Regions from separate parts of the Homo sapiens genome. Here all the other regions are linked to region 2. Evidence: promoter capture Hi-C in human tissues and cell types (Jung and others, 2019). All regions are on one chromosome and are shown on one strand. Each heading gives the region's core, a stretch centred on a gene start or on the middle of the fragment in contact. The rest is flanking DNA. Distances are from core to core; before and after follow the strand shown. Region 1 overlaps CSNK1G1 (casein kinase 1 gamma 1). Region 2 holds the start of OAZ2 (ornithine decarboxylase antizyme 2). Region 3 overlaps TRIP4 (thyroid hormone receptor interactor 4). Region 4 overlaps CSNK1G1 (casein kinase 1 gamma 1). Region 5 has its middle 5.2 kb from the start of MTFMT.

Region 1 (4,589 bases), core at 1,006-3,505, 490 kb before region 2:
AGATGGGTAAGGCTACACACATCTGTAGTGCCAGCTACTTAAGAGGCTGACGTGAGAGGATCGCTTCGGCCCAGGAGTTCGAGATAAGCCTGGGCAACATAATGAGACCTCATCCCAAAACAAAATAAAACAAAAAATCAAAGTCCCTGCATTCTGGAAGCGTATCTAAAACAAGTTGCTGGGTTTTTCTCTCCTTTTAATTGGGAAGGTGAAGATGACAAAGAACTGCAAAATAGTTAACAAAAAACTGCAACTTCATCTCAGAAAACATCCTACACATTCTTTGATTGTTAGAATCTAAGTAGTACACACCTTCGTTTCTTTATTCTTTTTTACAGACAGAGTCCTTGCTCTGTTTCCTAGGCTTGAGTGCAGTGTTGTGATCATGGCTCACTGCAGCCTCAAATTCCTGAGCCCAAGGGACCCTTCTGCCTCAGCTGAGTAGCTAGGAATATAAGTGTGTGGAACCACACTCGGCTAATTTATTTATTTTTATTTTTTGTGAAGATGGGATGTCGCTATGTTGCTCAAGCTGGTCTCAAACTCCTGGCCTCAAGCAAATCTAACATATCAGCCTCCCAAACTGCTGGGATTACCCATGTGAGCCATTGCACCCAGTCCATGCATTCATTTTGAATTTGCCAATTATGGTTTAGTCTCAGATTTCTTTTTTCTTTTTTTTTTTTTTTTGAGACAAGGTCTCGCTCTGTTGCCTAGGCTAGAGTACAGTAGCATGTTCTTGGACACTGCAGCCTCGCCCTCCTGGGCTCAAGTGATCCTCCCACCTCAGCTTCCTCACTAGCTGGGACTACAGGCATGCACCACCATCCCTGGCTACTTTTTGTATTTTTTATAGTTACTGGGTTTTGCCATGTTTCCCAGGCTGGTCTTGAACTCCTGGGCCAATCAAGCAATCAACCAGCCTTGGCCTCCCAAAGTGCTGGCACTACAGGTGTGAGCCACCACACCTGGCCCATCTCAGACATTTTATGTGTTTATTTTTCAGAATCAAGTTTAGGGCTTTATCTGAATAAACTACAGAAGCAAGACTAAGAGGCTACCTTCAACTTGATTGTGCTTTCTTTGTACAGAAAGTAAAACCCAAGAGAGCCAGAGAAAGCCACTCAGCTAACTCAAAATACAGAAGTGCAACATGTTTAACTATTGCCTTAAATTATAGGGAATTTGCATGAAAAAGAATAGTAGTCTACAGGGTAGATGAAGAAAGAAAAGGCAACTTTTTAAATAATGATTTGATGGAGGTTGTAAAAAGATGGTTACTAATGGGAAGGAGAGGTACCCTGACAGAGATAAATAACATAAAACTGAGTTGGTATACAACAATTGAAACAATCTTAAAAAGAATGAAAACAGCATGACCATCAGAATCCTTTGTCTACATGGCTTGTCTGAAGTTTGCAATAAAATATTCATAATTGAAAAAAAAAGCAGTTATACAAAAACAGTTTGTTGACACAACCTAAGGATGCACAAATGAAAAAGAGAAAAGAACAAGGAGAGTTGAGTGGAGGCCTCCCACAAAGCAGGGCAGATAGAGAAACGACTCTGCAGTTTCTCATACTGTATCACACCTACTCATTGCCTCTCCATTTTTATATCCACTTCCTGTAACAAGAAGCCCCTTGGTTATTAAAAATTCACTGGACAAATGTTTGAATTTTAAACAGTTGAGCACTAGAGGGCGAAAACTCTCCACATTTTCAATATTGATCAGGCCTACAGAAAAAAGATTTCACAGCAAAATAAATTATGAGATTAATATATTTTTAAAACTCACTGGAATAAGTAATAAAGTAACTTTTCAAATCCTGAGAACTATGAAAAAGAACTATAGAATATGGGACAATAGGAAAAATAAGGGTTCCTAAATCAGGAAGGGTACCTAAATAAGGTACCCAAAATAAGGGTACCTAAATCAGCTCAACGATTTAGGTATCTAGATCTTGGTTTATCCTTTCCACTAATTTAATCCAGTGAAATTAAGCATGGTCAAGTCACCTACTTTGGGTCTCAGTTTCCTCATCTGAAAATAAAGTGTTCAATCTGGGGAGAATTTGAAAAGTCATTTTCCAGCTCTAAAATTCTAAAATAATCTGATAACTTAAGCCTTTAGGGCCTTTCAGGAAAAAAATAAGAGTGAAAACCAGAGCATGCTTTATTTTCATACGACTTTGAACACTCCACACTTGTCCAATTCATTATTTCTACATGCCCTCATTTTTTCATGCAGCATATTTTCATTTTCAAAGAAGAAAGGTTTCCAATACCAGTGAGACCAGCAGGACACAAAATTCTTCAATTCTTCTGATTGGTTGAAAGGTGTGCTTTCATCCAATCAGAAAGATGTGCTTGGTTTACATGCATAACATCCCTGATTTTAGGTTAAATATATTTGTTGAAGGCAGGGAGCAAGGTAACCCAGTGTTCTCACCCTAATTTCAACCATTAAATAATATAAATTGGGCTTCTCAGTAAAAGCTTAATCAGTGGGAAGGTGGCTACTATGGTCTGGATTTCTGTCCTTCCCCCGGACCCCCCAACACACACAAACCTCACGTTGAAATTTGATCCCAATGTTCGAAGCTGGGCCAAATGGAAGGTGTTTGGGTCATGGGGGTATATCCCTCATTAACTGATTAACGACCTCCCTTAGGGATGAGTTCCCAAGAAAGCAGGTTGGTGAGAAGAGCCTAGCACCCCCCTTCCCATGTGATCTGCACATGCTGGCTGCTCCCCTTCCCCTTACACCATGAGTGGAAGCAGCATGAGGCCCCTGAGGCCCTCACCAGATGCAGATGCCAGTGCCATGCTTCTTGTACAGCCTGCAGAACCCTGAGCCAAATTTAAAGGTCTTTTCTTTATAAAATGACCCAGCCTCAGGTATTCCTTTATAGCAACACAAAATGGACTAAGTAAGTGTGGCTACTCTGATGTGGCAACTAATGCAAGGTTTAGGAGGCTTCTTCTCTTGTCCTCCTCCTCTGTAAAATTAAGAAGTGATTTTCTCAAAGCCATTTGAAAATACACATCTCAGTCATTTCTTCTTTGCAACACAAAAAAATGCAACACATTTAAAAACCAATAGCATTAGAGTTCCTACAAAAACTTCTATCGTTTGAGGCATGGGAAAGAGTTTAAAAAGCAGTGACAACTTTCTTTATGTATTCTCTGTAATGCAGAGAGCACAAAATATGATGACAGGTTAGATTTGACCTGAAAAACTCTGGTACTCAGTAAGCCAAGTCTGGGGGTAAACTCAAAAGTCCCGGCAGGAATGGCAGTACACCAAGAGATGAAACAGACTGATGCACAGTAGATGCTTAAAACAGATTTTGTTGAATAAATAATAATCGGGATAATTACAATATGGACTGATATTACTATTATCAGGCATTATGCTAAACATTTTACATACATTATCTCATAGAACCATATATTACAGGCATAATTATCATACCCATTTTATACATGAGATAACCGAGGCTGAGGGAAGAAGGTTATTGGATCAAAATTACATAGCTATTAAGAAAGAGCGCCAGGATTTGCATCCTTTTTCTTAACCACTACTCTGTATCTTATACAAACATAACATGAACACCCATCCCTTGTCTGTTCTTGTCTTTCCTCTTAAGAACAATAAAATTAGTACACAAATGGCTGAGCCCAGGAAGTGGGCATTAAAACAACTTCTAGAGTTTGTCAGTTAAACCACATAATCTTAAGTTTATTATTTAAGATACAGTTTTTGTTTCCTTGTAAAATGGAAAATTACTTGTCATTGTGAAGGAAGAAGGGGATGCTGAGCACTATGCAAGAGACCTATGTCAGACATGGTGCTTTCACATATATTATCCATTCAACCCTCAAAATATCCCTGTGAAGCATTACCCTCATTTTACAGAGGAGTTTCAGTGAGATTAAGTAACTTGTCCAAAGTAACGCTGATAGTAAGTACCAGAGGACCTCTAGTCTAATTTTAAAGTATTACATTTACTTAAGTGAGGATTTCCATGTGGTTACTGAAAAAATCTTGATAACATCATAATTTCAAATCGAATTGTATCATACTACTTTGTAATGCCATTTTTTACTCTTCACTATCACTTGAATTCCTCAGGTGAATAACCTGTGTAGTTTACTCAATGAGGGAACTTAGTAGATATTACATTAGTCTTTAAAATACTTATTAATGTGCAGGCCAGGCATGGTGGCTCACATCTATAATCCCAGTGTGTTGGGAGGCTGAGGCAACAGGATCTCTTGAAACCAGGAGTTTGAGACCCGCCTGGGGAACACAGTGAGACTCTATCTCTATAAAAAAATTTAGAAGTTAGCTGGGCATGATGGCATGCGCCTGTAACCCTAGCTACTGAGGCTGAGAAAGATCTCTCCAGCTCAGGTGACTGAGGTTATAGTGAGCTATGATCACACTGCTGCACTCCAGCCTGAGTGAGAGTGAGATTCTGTCTCTAAAAATAAAATAAATATGCTGGGCACGGTGGCTCACACCTGTAATCCCAGCACTTTGGGAGGCCGAGGCAGGCAGATCACTTAAGGCCAGGAGTTCA
Region 2 (4,945 bases), core at 1,449-3,948:
GCGCCTTTGCCACAAGTAACACCTTTGCATCCAGCACTCTCCGTGTCTATATCCGCCTCCACCTCCTCAGCTCCCGAGGGGCTGGGTTACAGAAGATGGAGTGAAAGGGGGGAATGCAGAGGGGATGGACATGGAGAGTCTTGGAAAAGGAAACTCTAACAGCTGATGGGTTGTAGGGTAAAGAGAACATGGGAGGCAGGGATAACAGGTCAAATAAGACCATAACAAATTATCAAACGGCGAGTGAATTTTCTTCCTGCATGCAAAGAAGAAATGAGGGGGAGGGCACCAGTTAAGAGTCTGAGACTTGGGGGAAGAAAATGGCCAATGGCTGAGAACTGAGTACAGACAGGAACTTCAGAAGCTGTTGCAGGTATTGTATCTTGGGCACTTCTGGACAGCACCTGAGAGAGAAAGACTAAGAAATCCCTGAAGAAATTGAGCCCAGGAGGCAGAGGTTGCAGTGAGCCCAGATCGCACCACTGCACTCCAGCCTGCGCCACAGAGTGAGACCCTGTCTCAAAAAAAAAAAAAAAAAAAAATATTCCTCGAAGAAAATTAGGCCTTTGTCAGTAGAAAAGGGCTGACACCCACTACAGGAATAGGATGGGAAAAGCTGCAGGAAGGAAGCTGTGGTTTTTAACCCCAGCTTTGCATTATAAAGAATTACCTGGGGAGCTTTAAAACTATATGCTAATAATCAGGACACTCTAGGCCAATGAGACCAATCTTTGAAGGTAAGGCCCAAGTGACTGATTTCTCAAATGTGAAGCCAGGGTAAGAAACACTGAAATACAAGAAAAGCTGAAAACCCAGTTGGAATATTTAAGGCTGGTGCTGTTAACAAGTGGGAAAGGAAAGTTGAGAGACTATTTCAGTAAGAAGAGTGCCCAAGTTTGAGAGGAATCCTGAGTGGCAGTTAGAGGGCTCTATGCAAAGAAAAGCAATAAAGAAGGCAATGCATTTGAGAGGAACTAGTCTAATTCTGAATAGAACATGGCCCAATTTAAGGAAGATTTACAGGGAATGGATCTGCTTGCAAAATAATGAGGCCCAAGTGAGAGGCAGAGGCCATAAGGCCAAATCTGGGGACAAAAGGTCTGGTGTGGGGAACTAATGAGCTTCAGACACGGTTTGGACAGGACAGCAACAAGTTTGGGGAAAAAATGAGGAAGAGAATTAGGTCCAAATTGTAAATGAAAGCCATTCTGATGTATAAGGAGCAACTAGGATTAAAAATTCCGGGGAATTAGGAAATTGTGGAACAGTTTCAGAGAACAGAGGCAGAAATATGGGATATATTAAAATTTGAGGGAGAGATAGGTGAGAAGGGTTGTCTTGGAGAAAGAGAGGCATGTAGAGAAAGGAAAATTGAGGAACTATCTGCAGGGGGAAGGATATACCATGCAAGTTTGGAAAACCAGGGTGCTCGGTCTGAGAAAGATGTGCAGCCTTTCTCTAATTAATGGGGGAAGACTAGGGTCGGGTTTTGAGGGAGGAAATTGCAAAGATCTAGTGTCCAGAATATAGAGCTTGGTTTGAAGGCACTGGAGGTACAGGGGGAAGGTTCACTGGAAGCGAGATGGCTGGGTCCTGTGATCTAATGATCCAAAGACGGGATTCAGTTAAGAGGGGAAGGAGAAGGATGAGTTCCAGCTGAGAAAAGATGTTTAGAGGGTAAGAATGTTTCCAAGAGTGTTGGGGGTATACCATTGGGGCAACAGGATGGAGCACAAGAATCAAACCTGGTGTTTGATAAATAAAAGGAATGGCGCTGGGAGACTGGGAAAATGGGGCCTAACTGGGAGAGGGGTGTGGAGAGGGGAAGGTGGGGGAAAGATGAAGCTGAAGTATGGGACCAGGAGGAAGAGGCTGGACATCTGTGTAAGGACTGCTAGGCCTGAAGAGAATGGGGGGAGGGTGATGAGTGGGGGTAAACTGAGAACTGAAGGATGGAGGTTGACTTTGCGGGGGGCAGTGATATGAGAAGAGTCTGGGTGGGGGGTGCAGTTTTCATCAGGGAGGGAATTCAAAGGGAAGGGTGAAGTGACTTATAAGGGGAGTAAGAAAGATTTGAGGAAGACAGGAAACAATTTGGGGAATCTGGATGCCGGGGAAAGCCCAGTTTGGGGAATGGGGCACAATTCGGTGGGGCTGAAAGAAAAAAGGGGACTTGCTTGGAAGGTTGGGTTCCGGCTTTTGGGGGCTTTAGGGGAGGAGAAGGCCCGGATGAGGGGGATGGGCCCGGCTGAAGAGGGGGCTAAAGGACAGAAGAAGGCCCAGTTGCAGGGCTGAGGACCGGACTAGGGTGGCTGAAGTGGTGAACGGACCTGGCTGGGGGCGGATGGCCCCGCTGCGGGGGGCGGGGGCCGGCTAGGGGTACGTGAGAGGCCCTCTGGAGCAGATGAGGGAGGATGGGGGCGGGGAGCCTGGGCCGGGCCGTTACCTGTCCTGGGTGTTTATCATCCTCGGCGGCTCTGCTCAGGGTGGGAGGAGGCGGCGCAGGGAGTGGATAGATGGATGAGTGGGTGGGTGTGGGGTCACGCGCGCGGGGTCGATCTCTGCGGGCTAAGTCCCTGTCAGGCCGCGGGCCGAGCGCCTCCTTTTGCCTCAGCGAGCGCCTGCCTCCAACTGACCCTCCCCGGCCGCCACCGCCGCCGCCGCCGCCGCCGCCCCGCCCCCGAGTGCCTCATCTGCATAGCCCCACCCCAGCGCCGCGCGGTGTCCTGGGAAACTGGGGCCCACAACAAAGGGCAAAGCACCGCCCCGCCTCCGCGCAGGCGCACCACGGACCGATCGTGGGGGTAGGGCTAGGGGGTCCGAACGAAGGGCAGGCTGTGCAGGAGGCCATGACCAAGGCGGTGGGTCTGCCCGCAGCTGCGGCAGCGCGGCCCAGAAGATGCGTTGTGTTTCCGGTAGTTTTCTGTGAGGATTGACTCAACCTGGTCCTCATCCCTATTCCTTGTTGGCGTGGGGCCGAACAGGGCTGTGCCATTTGGGAGGATATTAAAACAAAATCAGAAATCTTAAGAGAACTACACACATATTAGCACCATTCCTAGTCTGAGTCCAGGCCCACAGATCTGTTATCTCAGCTCATAATGCAGATCAATAACCTCAGCTGTCAGGGTAGATCAACAATCTCAGCATCTCGCACACATCTCATGTCAATCGTCAAGGCTGCTCCAAGCACTGGCTTAGGTCATCTGAAGCCAGAACTCTGTAGATCATGAGCACAGTCACAACAAGACAGTCGTGGAAAGCGTCGTCACTAACTTGTTCACGGTCACTTCAGATCACAATCAGTGCAAGTTACTTCAATCGATCATGCAAGGTTACTAGTTCAGTCACCTCCATTCATTATCCCTACTGGTCCTTATGACAGATTAGTGCCTGAAGGCCACAGTCACCGGTGCGCAGACCCCTCAGATCACAGTCCTTGTAGGTTACAATCACAGACACTTCAACACAATCATCAAAAGCCCCGACTCTGTTCACAGTCAACCCAGATTGCAATCAAGAGAGGTCACATTATCTCAGATCACAGTGGGTCACTCTGTCACCTCAGATTACATCCATTCAGTTATTCAACAAATAATTATTTTATTTATTTACTTATTTTTGAGATGGAGTCTCTCTCTGTGGCCCAGGCTGGAGTGCAGTGGCACAATCTCAGCTCACTGCAACCTCCACCTCCCGGGTTCAAGCGATTCTCCTGCCTCAGCCTCCTGAGTAGCTGGGATTACAGACATGTACCACCATGCCCGGCTAATTTTTGTATTTTTAGTAGAGACGAGGTTTCACCATGTTGCCCAAGCTGGTCTTGAACTCCTGACTTCAGGTGATCCACCTGCCTCGGCCTCCAAAAGTACTGGGATTACAGGCATGAGCCACCGCACCCGGCCAACAAATAATTATTGAATAGCTACTTACTGTATGCTCCAGGCATGTGCTAGAGTCCAAGAATACGCCATAATCAACCAGGCAAGGTTCCTGCCTTGGATGTCACAATCCGGTCAAGGGGAGAGACACAGGTCATCACAATACCAGGTAAGTAAGTGCTCAATCTGAGGAATGCCACAGAGAAAGTAATTTAGGGAATTAGGGACAGCTTTGCAGAAAGAGTGATAACTCAGAGAAAGGGTGACACTCCAGATCGGCGGTCACTATGACTTTCAGTTCACAAACATCTCACATTGGAGTCATCTCAGGATATGGTTACTCTCCTTCACAAACAGCATGCTTTTGGGTTTTGGATGATGGGGATGGAGGCACAGAAGGAAGGCTGGAGCTACCAAGCTAAGGCTTTTTCAACACAAATTAAAGTGGTAAATGATACCGAAACTGCCCGGATTATCACTAGATATTCAGGCAAGGCTGGTCTCATACTCTGGTTCACTTTAAGATCCTCCACTTTGTCCCTCAGCTATCCCTACCTACTCCTCCAGGTTCAAGTCAGGTATGTTCTTACATTAGTACTTAGCAAAATTGGACATTTAAACCCAGCCCTGATCTACCCCATCGCATAGTCCCAGAGACCTGGGCAATCCTCCTGGACCCTCAGAGGGAGCTGGAATGTCTCACTTCTGCCAGCCCATTCCTGGCCAAGTAACCCTTTAACCTGAAGGACAGTTTTTGACCCATGAATCAACAAATATTGAGAACTCACTATGTCAATAATAGCGACCATTTATTGAGCATCATGGGTAAAGTACTAAATTTTAGAACAGCTCTCCACCCTCGTTTTAAGGATGAAGAGAATTAAACCTCAGAGAGATTTATTCTGTCATCCAATATTTATTGAGGGTCTGTCTATACCAGACATGTTAACATGCTAGCTTTAATTCAAAGCGATTAAGTGGTATAGTTAGAATTTGGATCCCAAGTTGCCTGATCCTGTGCTTTCTCTGGATCTGCATGGTGGAAGAGTCAGAAGCTCTCTGGA
Region 3 (4,841 bases), core at 574-3,073, 270 kb before region 2:
CTTTGGGAGGCGGAGGCTGGTGGATCATGAGGTCAGGAGTTCAAGACCAGCCTGGCCAACATGGTGAAACCCTGTCTCTACTAAAAATACAAAAAAAAATTAGCTGGGTGTGGTAGTGGGTGCCCGTAATCCCAGCTACTTGGGAGGCTGAGGCAGGAGAATCACTTGAACCCGGGAGGCAGAGGTTGCAGTGAGCAGAGATTGCACCACTGCACTCCAGCCTGGGCAACAGCGTGAGACTCCATCTCAAATTAAAAAAAAAAACAAAACTGGAACATTGACTAGAGTTTCTAGATCAAAACAGACTGTCTTTAGGGTTATTTGCAGTCTGGGTATTAAGTACCCACTTAAATGGTTTCAGAAACCATTTATATTATATATATATATATATTTTTTTTATCCAAAGAGCATTGTGTTTTCTTTTTTTTTTTTTTTTTTTTTTTTGAGACGGAGTCGTACTCTGTCGTCCAGGGTGGTGGAGTGCAGTGGAGTGATCTTGGCTCACTGCAACCTCTGCCTCCTAGGTTCGAGCAATTCTCCTGCCTCAGCCTCCTGAGTAGCTGGGATTGCAGGTACGCACCACCACGCCCGGCTAATTTTTGTATTTTTAGTAGAGACAGGGTTTCACCATGTTGGCCAGGCTAGTCTTGAACTCTTGACCTCGTGATCCGCCTGCCTCGGCCTCCCAAAGTGCTGGGATTACAGGCATGAGCCACCATGCCTGGCTGAGCATTATGTTTTCTGTTGTACTTATCCTGAAGAGAGATGGGAAATATTACCACTTTTCCATGTATTTAGTGTTTTGGTTTTCATCTGAAAATAAACATGAAATTCTTAAGATTTTCATATATATTTATTCATTAATAAATACTTGAGCCAGGCGCAGTGGTTTACGCCTGTAATCCCACCGCTTTGGGAGACCGATGCAGGCGGATCACTCAAGGTCAGGCTCTTGAGACCAGCTTGACCAGCTTGGTGACCATCTCTACTAAAAATACAAAAATTAGCTGGGCATGGTGGCGCACCCCTGTAATCCCAGCTACTTGGGTCACTGAGGCAGGAGAATCACTTGATCCTGGGAGGCAGAGGTTACGGTGAGCCGAGATTGCGCCACTGCACTCCAGCCTGGGTGACAGAGCAAGACTCTGTCTGAAAAATAAATAAATAAATACAGCCGGGCGTGGTGACTCACACCTTTAATCCCAGCAGCTTGGGAGGCCAAGATGGGCGGATCACAAGGTCAGGAGATCAAGACTATCCTGGCTAACATGGTGAAACCCCTTCTCTACTAAAAATACAAAAAATTAGCTGGGCGTCGTGGCATGCGCCTGTAATCCCAGCTACTCGGGAGGCTGAGGCAGGAGAATCTCTTGAACCCGGGAGGTGGAGGTTGTAGTGAGCCAAGATTGCGCCACTGTACTCCAGCCTGGGCAACAGAGCAAGACTCCATCTCAAAAATAAATAAAAATAAATAAATAAATAAATAAATAAACACTTGAGAGCCTATTATAAATCAGGCACTGTTCTAAACACTAAGAGAAACAAAAGGATGAATCAACTGTAGATTCTGTCCTCAGATGTTTGAAAGACTTCTAGGTAGATATGTATATAAACCAAATATAAAATAAAAAGTGAACCTAACTGTCTTAAAAGAAGTAAAGACTGTCTCTGAGAAAAATAAAGGAGGGAAAGCTTGCTTCTAGCTGGGAAGGATCCCAAAAGACTTTATTTAAAAAGATGGTTTTGAATTAGCTTTGAAGGATAGTAATGAAATCTATCACTTTTTGATCAGTTATTATGTGCCACATTCATCATGCTATTTTCTAATCCTTATAATAATTCCAAGCAGGGTGTCATTTCCCCTCCTTTAGGGATGAAATATCATCCCTAAAGTGTCAAGAGAGTTCAAATAACTTGTGTAATGTCCAGGGTGAGGAGTTCGAGACCAGCCTGGTCAACATAATGAAACCTCATCTCTACTAAAAATACAAAAAAAATTAGCCAGGCGTGGTGATGTGCACCTGTAATCCCAGCCACTTGGGAGGCTGAGGCAGGAGAATCACATGAACCCAGGAGGCAGAGGCTGCAGTCAGCTGAGATCGCACCATTGCACTCCAGCCCAGGCAACAGTGCGAGACTCCATCTCAAAAAATAAATAAAAAATAACTTATGTAATGTCAGTTAATGGTAGAGTTATGATTTTGCTGTTCAAGTGTTTCTACTGAGATGGTAGAAAAGCATATTACAAGGATGAGGAGTAATGGGAGCAAAGGCACAGAGGTGAAGTTATCGGCCTCTATGGAGAATAATGGCAAACCAGTTCATTGAAAGAAGAGTGTGAGTATAGAGCAAGCTTGTCCAAGCTGTGGCCCGTGGGATGCATGTGGTCCAGGACGGCTTTGAATGAGACCAAACACAAATTTGTAAACTTTCTTAAAACATGAGATTTTTTGTGTGTGATTTTTTTTTTTAAAGCTCATCAGTTATCGTTAGTGTATTTTATGTGTGGCCCAGGACAATTCTTCCAGCGTGGCCCAGAGAAGCCAAAAGATTGAATACCCCTGGTATAGAGGAATAAGCAGCAAACAAAAAATGAAATGGGGAGTCTCTCTGAAACTAATCTGCTTCTGGGACTGCCCAATTAAAAAAAAATTAAAAAGGGCTGGGCACAGTGGCTCACACCTGTAATCCCAGCACTTTGGAAGGCCGAGGCAGGTGGATCACCTGAGGTTAGGAGTTCGAGACCAGCCAGACCAACATGGAAAAACCCCGTCTCTACTAGAAATATAAAATTAGCTGGGCGTGGTGGCGCATGCCTGTAATCCCAGCTACTCAGGAGGCTGAGGCAGGAGAATCACTTCAACCCAGGAGGCAGAGGCTGCAGTGAGTCGAGATTGTGCCATTGCACTCCAGCCTGGGCAACAAGAGTGAAACTCCGTCTCAAGAAAAAAAAAAAAAAAATGAAAAGGTAGGTTTGTTCAGATGATAGATAGTTTTGAATGATAGGCATTCAAATCTATCAAATGATAGACATATCAGTTGTGGGATGGGAAAGAGTGTTTTGAAGTTTTTTTGAGGCATTAACATGATCTGAGGCTTGCTTGAGGGAAAACTAATTTGGCAGAAATGTGGAAGATGGAGTGGAGATATTCTGAAGATGGGAAGACCAGTGAGAAGACAGTTGTAGTCCAGGATAGAGATGTTTGAAAAATATGTTCTAGGATAATGCCAATGAAATGAGGCAAGACAGGAACAATGATGCAAGGGGCTTTATGTAGGTAGAATCAATTACTGGATATGATGCCTTCATTTTACCTTTAAGTAAACCAAGGCTTAGAGAAAGTGGTCTATTTGATCTAGAAAGAATATGCTGTAGTGTCGCTATCTACTTGGAATCTGTTCAGGACTCCTTGGTTTGTCATCTAGTCTACCATGTAAACCAAGTGGCAACTTATCTTCTAATTTAAGATATTATTGGCCAGGCATGGTGGCTCACGCCTGTAATCCCAGCACTTTGGGTGGCTCAGGTGGGCAGGTCACTTGAGCCCAGGAGTTCGAGATGAGCCTGGGCAACCTGGTGAAACCCCGTCTCTACAAAAAATACAAAAATTAGCTGGGCATGGTGGCATGCACCTGTAAACCCAACTACTAAGGAGGCCGAGGTGGGAGGATCCCTTGAGCCGGGGAGGCAAGGGTTGCAGTGAGCAGATTGCATCAGTGCACTCCAGCCTGAGTGACAGAGTGAGACCCCATCTCAAAAAAAAAAAAAAAAAAAAAAAAGATGCCGGGTGCAGTGGCTCACGCCTGTAATCCCAGCACTTTGGGAGGCCATGGCGGGCAGATCACGAGGTCAGGAGTTCAAGACCAGCCTGGTCAATGTGATGAAACCCCATCTCTGCTAAAAAAAATACAAAAAAAATCTGCCGGGCGTGGTGGCATGTGCCTGTAATCCCAGCTACTCGGAAGGGTGAGGCAGGAGAATCCTTGGAACCTGGGTGGCGGAGGTTGCAGTGAGCCGAGATCGCGCCACTGCATTCCAACCTGGGCGACAGAGTGAGACTCTGTCTCAAAAAAAAAAAAAAAAATATTATTATTGCTTAGGATATTATATAATCATACATTCATTAAGTATTTATTAACTATCTGTCATGTGCCAGGCACTGTGTTAAATACTAAGGATCCAGAGTTTTAACAACATTATTCCATCCCCTCTAGATCTTTAAGTATACTAGATGAAACTGAGACAAGAAAACCCAACCATAATAACTATCACATGAATAGTGGAATACACTAAGGAAGGGACCCAACTGTTAACTTTGCATGGCTGGAAGTGGGATGGGAGGGGGAGTGTAAAGGAAGCTTCTTAAAAAAAAAAAAAAAAAAAAAGACAAGTCCTGCAGAAGCAATGCTTCCTGGAATACCATAATGGTAGATTGAAAAAAAAAAAAAACCTGAAGAAAGTAAAATTTATATTTTCTTCAATAAACCATTCTACATCATGTCACCATGCCCTTGTCCACTAGGACAGCTCCTGCTCATCCTTTAAAACATCTCAGGCTGGGCGGGGTGGCTCACACCTGTAATCCCAGCATTTTGGGAGGCCGACGCATTTGGATCACCTGAGGTCAGGAGTTCGAGACCAGCCTGACCAACATGATGAAACCCTGTCTCTACTAAAAATACAAAAATTAACCGGGTGTGGTGACATATGCCTGTGTTCCCAGCTACTCAGGAGGCTGAGGCAGGAGAATCCCTTGAATCCAGGAGGCGGAGGTTGCAATGAGCTGAGATCGTACTATTGCACTCCAGCCTGGGCAACAGAACGACACTCCGTCTCAAAA
Region 4 (4,884 bases), core at 833-3,332, 450 kb before region 2:
GCTAATTTTTAATTTTTTGTAGAGATAGGATCTTACTATGCTGCCTAGGCTGGTCCCAAATTCCTGGGCTCAAGCAATCCTCCCACTTCAGCCACCCAAAGTGCTGTGGGATTATAGGCATAAGCCACTGCACCTGGCTTATATTATTTTAATGGTTTGAGTATTGCCCTGTATGTGGATATGTATTTATGTATGTATGTATACACACCCTCCCCATAATTTTTGGACACGTGAACTGTTTTCATTTTCCAATATTATGAACAATGCTTTTAGGAACATCCTTATGTATATTTCTTTTTAAACTATTGAGAATTAAAGATTGTAAATGCAATTAAAATATGTAACTTCAATCAATGTGGTGTTCAAGTTTCCAAAAATGGAGTTTTCTAAAAACCTCAGAGATAAAGCAGCCAAACAACCATACTTTGCTCTATACCAATTGAGCAACTGGCTGGCTGATTATTCTAAACTGACAGTGTACTGGGCAACTGGCTAACAAGAAAACCAAACATTACCCTAAACACATTATAATCTCTCTTTAAAACCTCAACAGTAGCTGACATGGTGGCTCATGTCTGCCAACCCAGCACTTTCAGAGGCTGAGGCAGGAGGATCACTGGAGACCAGGAGTTTAAGACCAGCCTGGGCAACACAGCAAAACCTCATCTTTACAAATAAATAAATAAAATAGGACGGGCATGGTGGCTCATGCCTGTAATCCCAGCACTTTGGGAGGCTGAGACGGCAGAACTGTTTGAGCCCAGGGGTTCGAGACCAGCCTGGGCAACATAGGGAGACCTTGTCTCTACCAAAAATTAAAAAATTAGCCTGGCAGGGAGGCACGCTCCTGTAGTCCCAGCTACTCAGGAGGATGAGGTGGGAGGATTGCTTGAGTCCCAGAGATCAAGACTGCAGGGAGCTGTGATTGTGCCACTGTACTCCAGCCTGGGCGACAGAGTGAGACCTTGTCTCAATCAATCAATAAATAAAATAAAGCTCAACATCTGCACACCCATTAGGATGGCTATTATCAAAAACAGAAAAATAACAAGTGTTGATGAGGATGTGGAGAAACTGGAACCCTTGTGCACTGCTGATGGGAATGCAAAATGGTGCGACCGCTCTGGAAAATGGCATGGCAATTTTTCAAAAAATTAAAGACAGAATCATTATGATTTACAATTCTATTTCTGGATAGATGCTCCAAAGAAGTGAAAGCAGGAACTCAGATTTATTTGTACATCCATGTTTATAGCATTATTATGCACAATAACTAAAAGGTGGAAGCGACCTAAGTGTGCATAATTGGATGAATGGATAAACAAAATTGGGTATATACATAGGGTGAAGTATTATTCAACCTTAAAAAGGAAATTCTGACACATGCTACAACACGGGCAAACCTTGAGGACATCATGCTCAGTGAAATAAGCCAGTTACAACGGACAAATATTGAATGAGTCTACTTAATATTAAGTACCCAGTAGCCAGGCGCGGTGGCTCACGCCTGTAATCCTAGCACTTTGGGAGGCTGAGGCGGGTGGATTGCCTGAGCTCAGGAGTTCGAGACCAGCCTGGACAACACGGTGAAACCCCGTCTCTACTAAAATACAAAAAATGAGCCAGGAGTGTCAGCGTGCGCCTGTAGTCCCAGCTACTCAGGAGGCTGAGGCAGGAGAATTGCTTGAACCCGGCAGGTGGATACTGCAGCAAGCCTAGATCGCACCACTGCACTCCAGCCTGGGCGACAGAGCAAGACTCCGTCTCCAAAAAAACAAACAATAAAAAAAATTAAGTATCTAGTGTAGTCAAATTCATAGAGACAGACAGAATGGTGGTTGCCAAGGGGTTGGGGGGAGGGGAGAATGAGGAGTTAGTGTTTAACAGATACAAAATTTCAGTTAGGGAAGATGAAAAAGTTCTGGAGATGGATGGTGGTGATGGTTGTACACCAATGTAAATGTACTTAATGCCATTGAACTTTTTTTTTTTTTTTTTGAGACGGAGTTTCACTCTTGTTGCCCAGGCTGGAGTGCAATGGCATGATATTGGCTCACCACGACCTCTGCCTCCTGGTTCAGCGATTTTCCTGCCTCAGCCTCCCAAGTAGCTGGGATTACAGGTATGCACCACCACACCTGGCTAATTTTTGTATTTTTAGTAGAGATGGGGTTTCTGCATGTTGGTCAGGCTGGTACCAAACCCCTGACCTCAGGTGATCCGCCTGCCTTGGCCTCCCAAAGTGCTGGGATTACAGGTGTGAGCCACTGCACCTGGCCAATGCCACTGCACTTTAAAAAACTGTTATAATGGTAAATTCTGGATATCATCTCTTATTAGATAATATTATTTTCTCCTATTCCTTTCCATGGGTTGCCCTTTTTAGAATTCTGTTGACAGTGTGCAAAAGTTTTAAATTTTGCTGAAGTCCAACTTAGCTAGTTTTTTTCTTTTGTTGTCTGTGATTTTGGTGTCATATCCAAGAAATCACTGCCAAATCCAATGTCATGAAGCTTTTCCCATGTGTATTCTAGTAAAATATTATAGTTTCAATCTTACATTTAGGTCTTTGATCCACTCTGAATTAATTGTTGAATACAATGTAAAGTAAGAATCCAACTTCACTGTTATGTGGGTATCCAGTTTTTCTGGCATCATTTGTTGAAAAGACTGTCCTTTCCCCCAATGAGTAGTTATTTGTCCTTTTTTTCTTTTTTCTTTTGAGATGGAATCTTACTCTGTCACCCAGGCTGGAGTGCAATGGCACAATCTCAGCTCACTGCAACCTCCACCTCCCGGGTTCAAGCAATTCTTCTGCCTCAGCCTCCCAAGTAGCTGAGACTACAGATGCACACCACCACACTCGGCTAATTTTTGTATTTTTAGTAGAGACGAGGTTTTACCATATTGGCCAGGCTGGTCGCAAACTCCTGACCTCGTAATCCACCCACCTCAGCCTCCCAAAGTCCTGAGATTACAGGCATGAGCCACCACACCCCGCCTATTTGTCTTATGTTTAAGACAGACTCCAAGGAAGGAGATTCCATAACTTCCCTCGACAATTCATGCTGATGTTGAACAAGTTTCATGGTTTGGAACACTTTTATATTATACTCAAATCTCACTACTGAAACTTAAGCCTATTTTTCTTAAGTCCTCAGCAAAAAAATAAAAAAGCTCCTCAATAACCACGAATACTATTAAGTAGCTCTCTTCAAATAACAAAACTTACTTTTCTCAGGCTTTCCTAGACTTTCTTTTCTTAGGCAAAGTAATTTCAAATTCCTTTCACCTTTCCTCATTGGTCCTAGTTTTTAATTCTTTGATCATCTTTGAAGGCTCTTTCCTGAATCCACTTGAAGTTTTCTGCATTTTTCTTAAGATATAGAATCCATTAATCAAAGAATTCAGAAGTTTCTCCGAAGTTGTCTAGTCTATCCCTCTGCTTCTAGGAAGATTTTCTCTAAATCAATTCAGGCCAGACTGGAATGTTTGTATCTGTAGGAAGCGCTATGAAGAAAGAACTCATACCCTTGTTTGAGTATAAAATCAGCAATCATTAGAGTTGGACTTCAAGTGTCTCAAGACTTTCAGTAAAAAGAAAAGTACATAAGACTAATTATACTGTAGAGTCCCTTTCTTATTTATCTCTTCAGATAGAGAGGTATCATATCACTCTTATGTCTCCATCTGGTTGCAGATATTCCACTGAATCACTATCAAAGCAGCCAGGTATAGAATTTTTCCATTAGCAAAATAACTAAGAATTCACAAGGAACCAAACAGAAACAGTGATGACAAATCAACATGGAACTAGAAGTCGATCAAAACACTAGAAAAGGGACTATTCTTTCCAGAGAAATCGCTTTTGGATTCTGACAAACCACAGAGGCAATGAATTTTAAAAACCACACATCCTTCCTCAAATATTATACTCTCAATCTTCATGCTGGAAAGCATAATAGAAAATATTCAATCTGACGTTGGGTAGCCAAGCTAGTAAATTAAAAATGCAAAACTCCATAGAGTTCAAGGGTTGAAAGGCATACACATCACATATATTCAGACATGAGGGTCTTATTATGAAGACTGAGAGAATTACACACTTCAGCCAACTCCTTAGCACATGGCCATAGCCTGCTCAGCCAATTGGGCTTCAAGGTGCTTTTCTGGAAGCACTATAAGTAGAAGGCATTGCAAAACTCAGTCTACAGACTACAGAAGGCAGCAATATTAGCAGCACAGGAGATTTTTTTTTAAACCCAACTGTTAGAAAACCTCTGTTAAAAAGAACCCTAGAAATGTGGGTGATGGATAAAGGAGGGGCTCATTACACTATTTTGTTTACTTTGTGTACGATTTTTTTAAAGGTTTTTAGAAATCTAAGAAATCTAAGAAAAAAGAGTCCACAATGAAGATCCAAACAAAGTACAACAGAAACAGCAGCAGCAGAGCTTCCTTGCATTTCTGTGCCAGATGCTGATTACATTTCCATAGAGGGCTGTGCATTTGCCAGAATATTTACCATATTCTGGAAAACATATGCCTGCCTAAAATCCTAAACAAACAGCAGACAGCTACCTTATAGGAGTGTAGTGCTTAAGGCAAATTGACCATTACAATCCAAAGAGCTCAATTACTGCCTTCATATCTTCCTTTGGAGAACAGAAGCCCAAAAGCAAGAATGAAAGCCTGTAGACAAAACTGTTATCCTCTAAAATGGCTTTGAGACTTATTTGAAAGAGAAATGCGGTACTGAGTCACACCATACTAGATTGTAAGAGTTCCATTTTTAGCTTTAAATAGTGGCCATACAAAGCAGAATAAAAGTTTTTAAAAAGGAAATGAAATGTAACGATCAATCATGTCAACAATATGTTATGT
Region 5 (4,947 bases), core at 2,045-4,544, 330 kb after region 2:
TGTAATGGCTGAGGTTTTCCCAGGATGTAAAAATGAAAATATTTCTGAAACTCTTGGTAGTGAGTTAAGAGTATGTTGTAGAGGACGAGGGGTGTCTACTTTCAAGACCAGATAAATCCACCACTGGAACTATCATAAAGCACACAGAGAAGATGAGGACTCCAGCCCCGAATGGCAAGGAGTTTTACATAATAAATTAAGACACCCAGAAAGCACATACAAGGGGATTGGAACCCAGATAATGCTAATTCAGTTGGTGCTCCTGTTTTCAGAAATTTATCTTTCTTGATGAATAGAGTGTGTGCGGATGCTGAATCAATGAAATTACTCCAGGTTCTGAGTCTGGGTGACAAGACAATAGCAGTGTCATTGACGTAGGGAAATAACCCACTTGGTGGTCAACATGACATTTCACCCTTGAATGCTTTGAAACTGAAGTGATGAGACAAGCAAATGGAGACGTTTAGTAGAAAACTGGAATGCAGGAGTGGCCTCCATGACTAGGGGCTGGGAGAGCTGATCTGGGAATGGGAAGAGGCAACAAGCATTTCCACTTCCTGTTCCCGTCATCTCACCCCACTCCATGACTATATGGGTATTTCTGCAGGGTGAGGATAACTACCACAGAACAGAACTCCAGTTAGTAAGGTGGCCAACGCCTAAGTCCACAAGAACCCCTGCTTGTGGCCTAGGAGGCAATGCCACATTTGACCAGGGGAAGGACTGCCACACATAGGTGTCAGCCCAGTGCCAGGGGCAGGAACTGACCTCAGGGGCACAGTCCAGTGAAGCCTTTTGAGATGCAGTTCCTAGCGAGCCACTCCATGTACTGCCATCGCCTGCCTGTGGTTGTATCAGATGCCCGCAAGGAGGTGCTGCCCACCAGCCTGTCCCGTCACTGAGCGTGACGGATAGTCCGTTTGCTCCAGTACCTCTGACAGAATCTGCCCTCTGTGTTGTTACTGCCCTGTGTGGTCCAGTAGATGTCACTCCCTAACCTGTCCAGCCTCTCTGTAAATCAGGGCCGGGGATGAAAGGCCACACACAGCAGTGTGGGTCCACAGGACTCTCCTTGATAAGGAGAGAGACTGGAGAGGTTAAGGGACATCTAAGGGGTATCAGGAACCCCAGGAAGCGAAGCCAGATATACCACAGGTAGGAGAAGCAGCCTAACAATATGGACGTTTCCTCATTGCTGCTGAGGGGCATCCTAGAAAACCAAGAGAATATTTCAAAGTACACTTAAAGAGATCAAATATTAAAAACTTTAGTTCCCAGCCCTTTACCCCCAGCAAAAATGCTAGACAGTGTTAACAAAGCTGTATGTTGTTAACAGGAGGAAAGACTAGTTAGTAAAATAGCTACAGCTGTGGCCAGTTCTTGTTCTTGGACACCTATGTTTATATCGGAAAACACTTTTTGATGCTGTTCTCTGAAATCAGGCTCCACATATGGAGTGATAAAACAGAAATCCTTTTTTAAACAAAACCGCCTTTGCTACTTCCTAGACAGCCACTAGATAGCACCACAGCCTTGCTTCCTCACCCTTTACCCTCACGTGGGACTCAAAGAAGAGCGATTGCATGCAATTGATTAGCTCCATAGTTTCTAATCAGCTGCTCACTAGCATGCTTCCTTTATTTACCAGGTTCAGAATATGGGAAAGAGAGGCTGAAGCTACCCCAAGGAAGTTTTGTATAGATTGTTATTGTGAATATATATCATGTATCCTGTGTGGGGTGGTAGCATATTTCTGTTTGTATGTAAGGGCTATCAATAAATACACTTCTAAGAAAATTTTTCCTAGAAGTGTAATAATTTGGTTGGTTGGAGATGCTTGTGGTATCCTCTTTACATTTTACAATATAGATTATCATTCTCTGGAGATTTGCCAAAACCTTCAGGTCTATAATACATCCCTCTGTGGGGGATAATGATCATCTCAGTCCTTATGTAACAGTTATAGAAAGGCTCATTTGCTTATATCCTGCTCTCCTGTGGGAATCCTACTTGCCTCCAATCTGATGTAGCTGACTCTGTAATAAATTAAACCAGAGCTACCCAGTCTTATCATTAACAGGTGCTTTCTGCTTGCTCCTCACACTTGGCCTAAAGGCCCTTGTATATAAGTCAGAGATCTTGGCTTCTGGAAGAAATATCAAAATAAAATTTACAGCCTTGGGGGTAGGGGCTGAAGGGGCTGTACCAGGCACTTTTTTTTTTTTTTTTTTTTTTTTTGAGACAGAGTCTTGCTCTGTCACCCAGGGTAAAGTGCCGGGACGTGATCTCGGTTCACTGCAGCCTCGACCTCCCAGGCTCAGGTGATCCGCCCGCCTCAGCCTTCCAACTATAGGCACGCGCCACCATGCCCAGCTAATTTTTTTTTGTAGAGACAGGGTTTTGCCATGTTGCCGAGGCTGGTCTCGAGCTCCTGGGCTCAAGCAATCCTCCTGCTTTGGCCTCCCAAAATGCTGGGATTACAGGCTGCACCACTGCGCCCGGCCAAAATGCACATCCTCTTTACAGGGGAAATTCCCTACTGTAGATAGCTTTGCTTGAATGAGCTCAACTACAGTGCGAATGCTGGGGCTTATTGTGTTGACTGTACGGTCACCACGGTTGCCGCATCCCGAGGACATGGTCACTTCCTTGACTACCTATCTTGCCTCAAGTTGAACATTTGAATTGTTCCCACTTGTTGGCTATGATGAATAATGCTACCGTGAACATTCATGTGCAAGCTTTTGTGTGGAAATATGTTTCCACCCGCTGGGCACGGTGGCTCACACCTGTAATCCCAAAACTTTGGGAGGCCGAGGCGGGCGATCACTTGAGGTCAGGAGTTCAAGACCAGCCTGGCCTACATGGTGAAACCCCATCTCTACTAAAAACACAAAAATTAATCGGGAGTGGTGGTGCATGCCTGTAGTACCAGCTACTCAGGAGGCCGAGGCAGGAGAATTGCTTGCACCCGGGAGGCAGAGGTTGCAGTGAGCCAAGATCAAGCCACTGCACTTCAGCCTGGGCAACCAAGTAAGACTCTGTCTCAAAAAAAAAAAAGAAATATGTTTCCAATTCTCTTGGGTATATACCTAAAAGTAGAATTGCTGAGTCCCACTCTATGTTTTATTTTTTATTTATTTATTTTTTATTTTTTTGAGACTGAGTCTTGCTCTGTCACCCAGGCCAGACTGCAGTGGCGCGATCTTGGCTCACTGCAAGCTCCGCCTCCCGGGTTCATGCCATTCTCCTGCCTCAGCCTCCCGAGTAGCTGGGACTACAGGTGCCCGCCACCACACCCGGCTAATTTTTTTCTATTTTTAGTAGAGACGGGGTTTCACCATGTTAGCTAGGATGGTCTCGATCTCCTGACCTCGTGATCTGCCTGCCTTGGCCTCCCAAAGTGCTGGGATTACAGGCGTGAACCACTGCGCCCGGCCTCTATGTTTTAATTCTTAGAAGTGACAAGCTGTTTTCCAAAGTGGCTACACCGTTTTACATTCCCACCAGCAGTGAGTGACAGTGTACCATCATATAACTACTGATACTGCAGGGAGTAAACTCAGGAGTTCAGGCCTCTTTGTGTGAACTGATTTTGCCGCTGCACATGGATACCTGGCACATTGTACCAGAGCGCTTACATCTCAGGATTGCCGGGGTGCCTTTGTCTAGAAGCAGATAATTCTGCAAATGTGGACTGCTGACCCAGGATCCACCTATGGAGAATTCATTATGTAGAACTGAATGAAACCAATGATGAAACTCAGATTGTGTTTTGAAATGTTGTCGGTATTTTTTTTTATGTTCTATGTTCTGCTAGGCATATGAAAAACATCTCTTTAGTCCTTTATGTTCCATCTCTAACTCTCAATTTAGCGGGCTTTAAATGTTCAAACTGAAAGGCACTTTCACCACACATAGTTAAAGGAACTACCCTAAATCTCCCTGATTATTAGCTTTGTGAGTCTTACCTTGGTTGCTATATTATTTCAGAGGACCCCTCAAAATTCATGAAATGAATAATATTGTATACTTTAGATCATCCAGTTTTCAGAAATGAGAGACTAAATGCCTCAGAATACCTACCCACATTGCCAAACCCCCTTAGAATCCAAGATGTATTAAATGTTCTGTCTAGGAGGTCAAGACTGTAGAAAATCTTTTTTTTTTTTTTTTTTTTTTTTTTTTTTTTTTTTTTTTTTTGAGACGGAGTGTCTTAACTCTGTCGTCCAGGCTGGAGTGCAGTGGCACGATCTTGCCTCACCGCAACCTCCGCCTCCCGGGTTCAAGCAAGCAATTCTCCCACCTCAGCCTCCTGGGTAGCTAGGATTACAGGCACCCACCACCATGCCCGGCTAATTTTTGTATTTTTAGTAGAGACAGGGTTTCTCCATGTTGGCCAGGCTGGTCTCAAACTCCTGACCTCAGGTGATCCACCTGCCTTGGCTTCTCAAAGTGCTGGGATTATAGGCATAAGCCACCGCACCTGGCCAGAAAACCTTAAATGGAAAATTTAATCCAAATGGATAAATTAATATACAGGTAAATTTAAGGATGATGCCTCCAAAAAGTGCAATTTGTTGTAAAATGGGTTATGCTTAGCAAAACAAAAATTTCCTTAAATTTTTGTTTTCTTATTATAACTATAGTATGCCTGCAAATAATCAAGCCAGGCATGGTGGCTCACACCTATAATCCCAACACTTTGGGAGGTCAAGACAGAAGATAACTGGACGCCAGGAGTTTGACAGCAGCCTGGGCAAGACCCTATCTCTACAAAATTTTAAAAATTAGCCAAGTGTAGTGGTGCACGCCTATGGTCCTAGCTACTCGGGAGGCTGAGGTGGGAGAATCGCTTGAGCCCAGGAGATTGAGGCTGCCATGAGCCATGATCATGCCACTCCAACCTAGGCAACAGAGTCAGATCTTGTCTTAAAAAAAAAATTA

Evidence for each region. The method cuts DNA at HindIII sites, captures the fragments that hold promoters and counts their contacts. A contact is called where the count stands out against the background at its distance.
Region 1: a contact is called between a fragment that was not itself captured here and the fragment with the promoter of OAZ2 in region 2, in 1 of the 25 tissues and cell types used here (lymphoblastoid cells).
Region 3: a fragment that was not itself captured here is called in contact with the fragment with the promoter of OAZ2 in region 2 in 3 of the 25 tissues and cell types used here (dorsolateral prefrontal cortex, mesenchymal stem cells and spleen).
Region 4: a fragment that was not itself captured here is called in contact with the fragment with the promoter of OAZ2 in region 2 in 1 of the 25 tissues and cell types used here (dorsolateral prefrontal cortex).
Region 5: a fragment that was not itself captured here is called in contact with the fragment with the promoter of OAZ2 in region 2 in 1 of the 25 tissues and cell types used here (mesenchymal stem cells).

The regions. Positions count from the first base shown.
Region 1 is chr15:64,208,216-64,212,804 of GRCh38, forward strand. All of the region lies in intron 6 of CSNK1G1 (casein kinase 1 gamma 1), which reads right to left. Among named protein-coding and RNA genes, the nearest start is that of PPIB, 47 kb to the left of the region's middle. The HindIII fragment of the contact is 4,963 bases long and covers 1-4,589 here.
Region 2 is chr15:64,700,583-64,705,527 of GRCh38, forward strand. It overlaps OAZ2 (ornithine decarboxylase antizyme 2), which reads right to left and starts at 2,699. Exons shown (of 5, transcript NM_002537.3): 1 at 2,447-2,699. The coding sequence starts at 2,466. LOC124903507 (a long non-coding RNA gene) reads left to right here and starts at 3,961. Exons shown (of 3, transcript XR_007064679.1): 1 at 3,961-4,050. RefSeq lists an enhancer at 1-656 and silencers at 2,285-2,504, 2,515-2,834. The HindIII fragment of the contact is 8,869 bases long and covers 1-4,945 here.
Region 3 is chr15:64,431,458-64,436,298 of GRCh38, forward strand. The region is part of intron 11 of TRIP4 (thyroid hormone receptor interactor 4); the gene reads left to right. Among named protein-coding and RNA genes, the nearest start is that of ZNF609, 27 kb to the right of the region's middle. The HindIII fragment of the contact is 3,066 bases long and covers 291-3,356 here.
Region 4 is chr15:64,252,373-64,257,256 of GRCh38, forward strand. The region is part of intron 3 of CSNK1G1 (casein kinase 1 gamma 1); the gene reads right to left. Among named protein-coding and RNA genes, the nearest start is that of PPIB, 92 kb to the left of the region's middle. The HindIII fragment of the contact is 3,236 bases long and covers 465-3,700 here.
Region 5 is chr15:65,032,348-65,037,294 of GRCh38, forward strand. No RefSeq gene overlaps it. Among named protein-coding and RNA genes, the nearest start is that of MTFMT, 5.2 kb to the left of the region's middle. RefSeq lists an enhancer at 979-1,058. The HindIII fragment of the contact is 4,917 bases long and covers 837-4,947 here.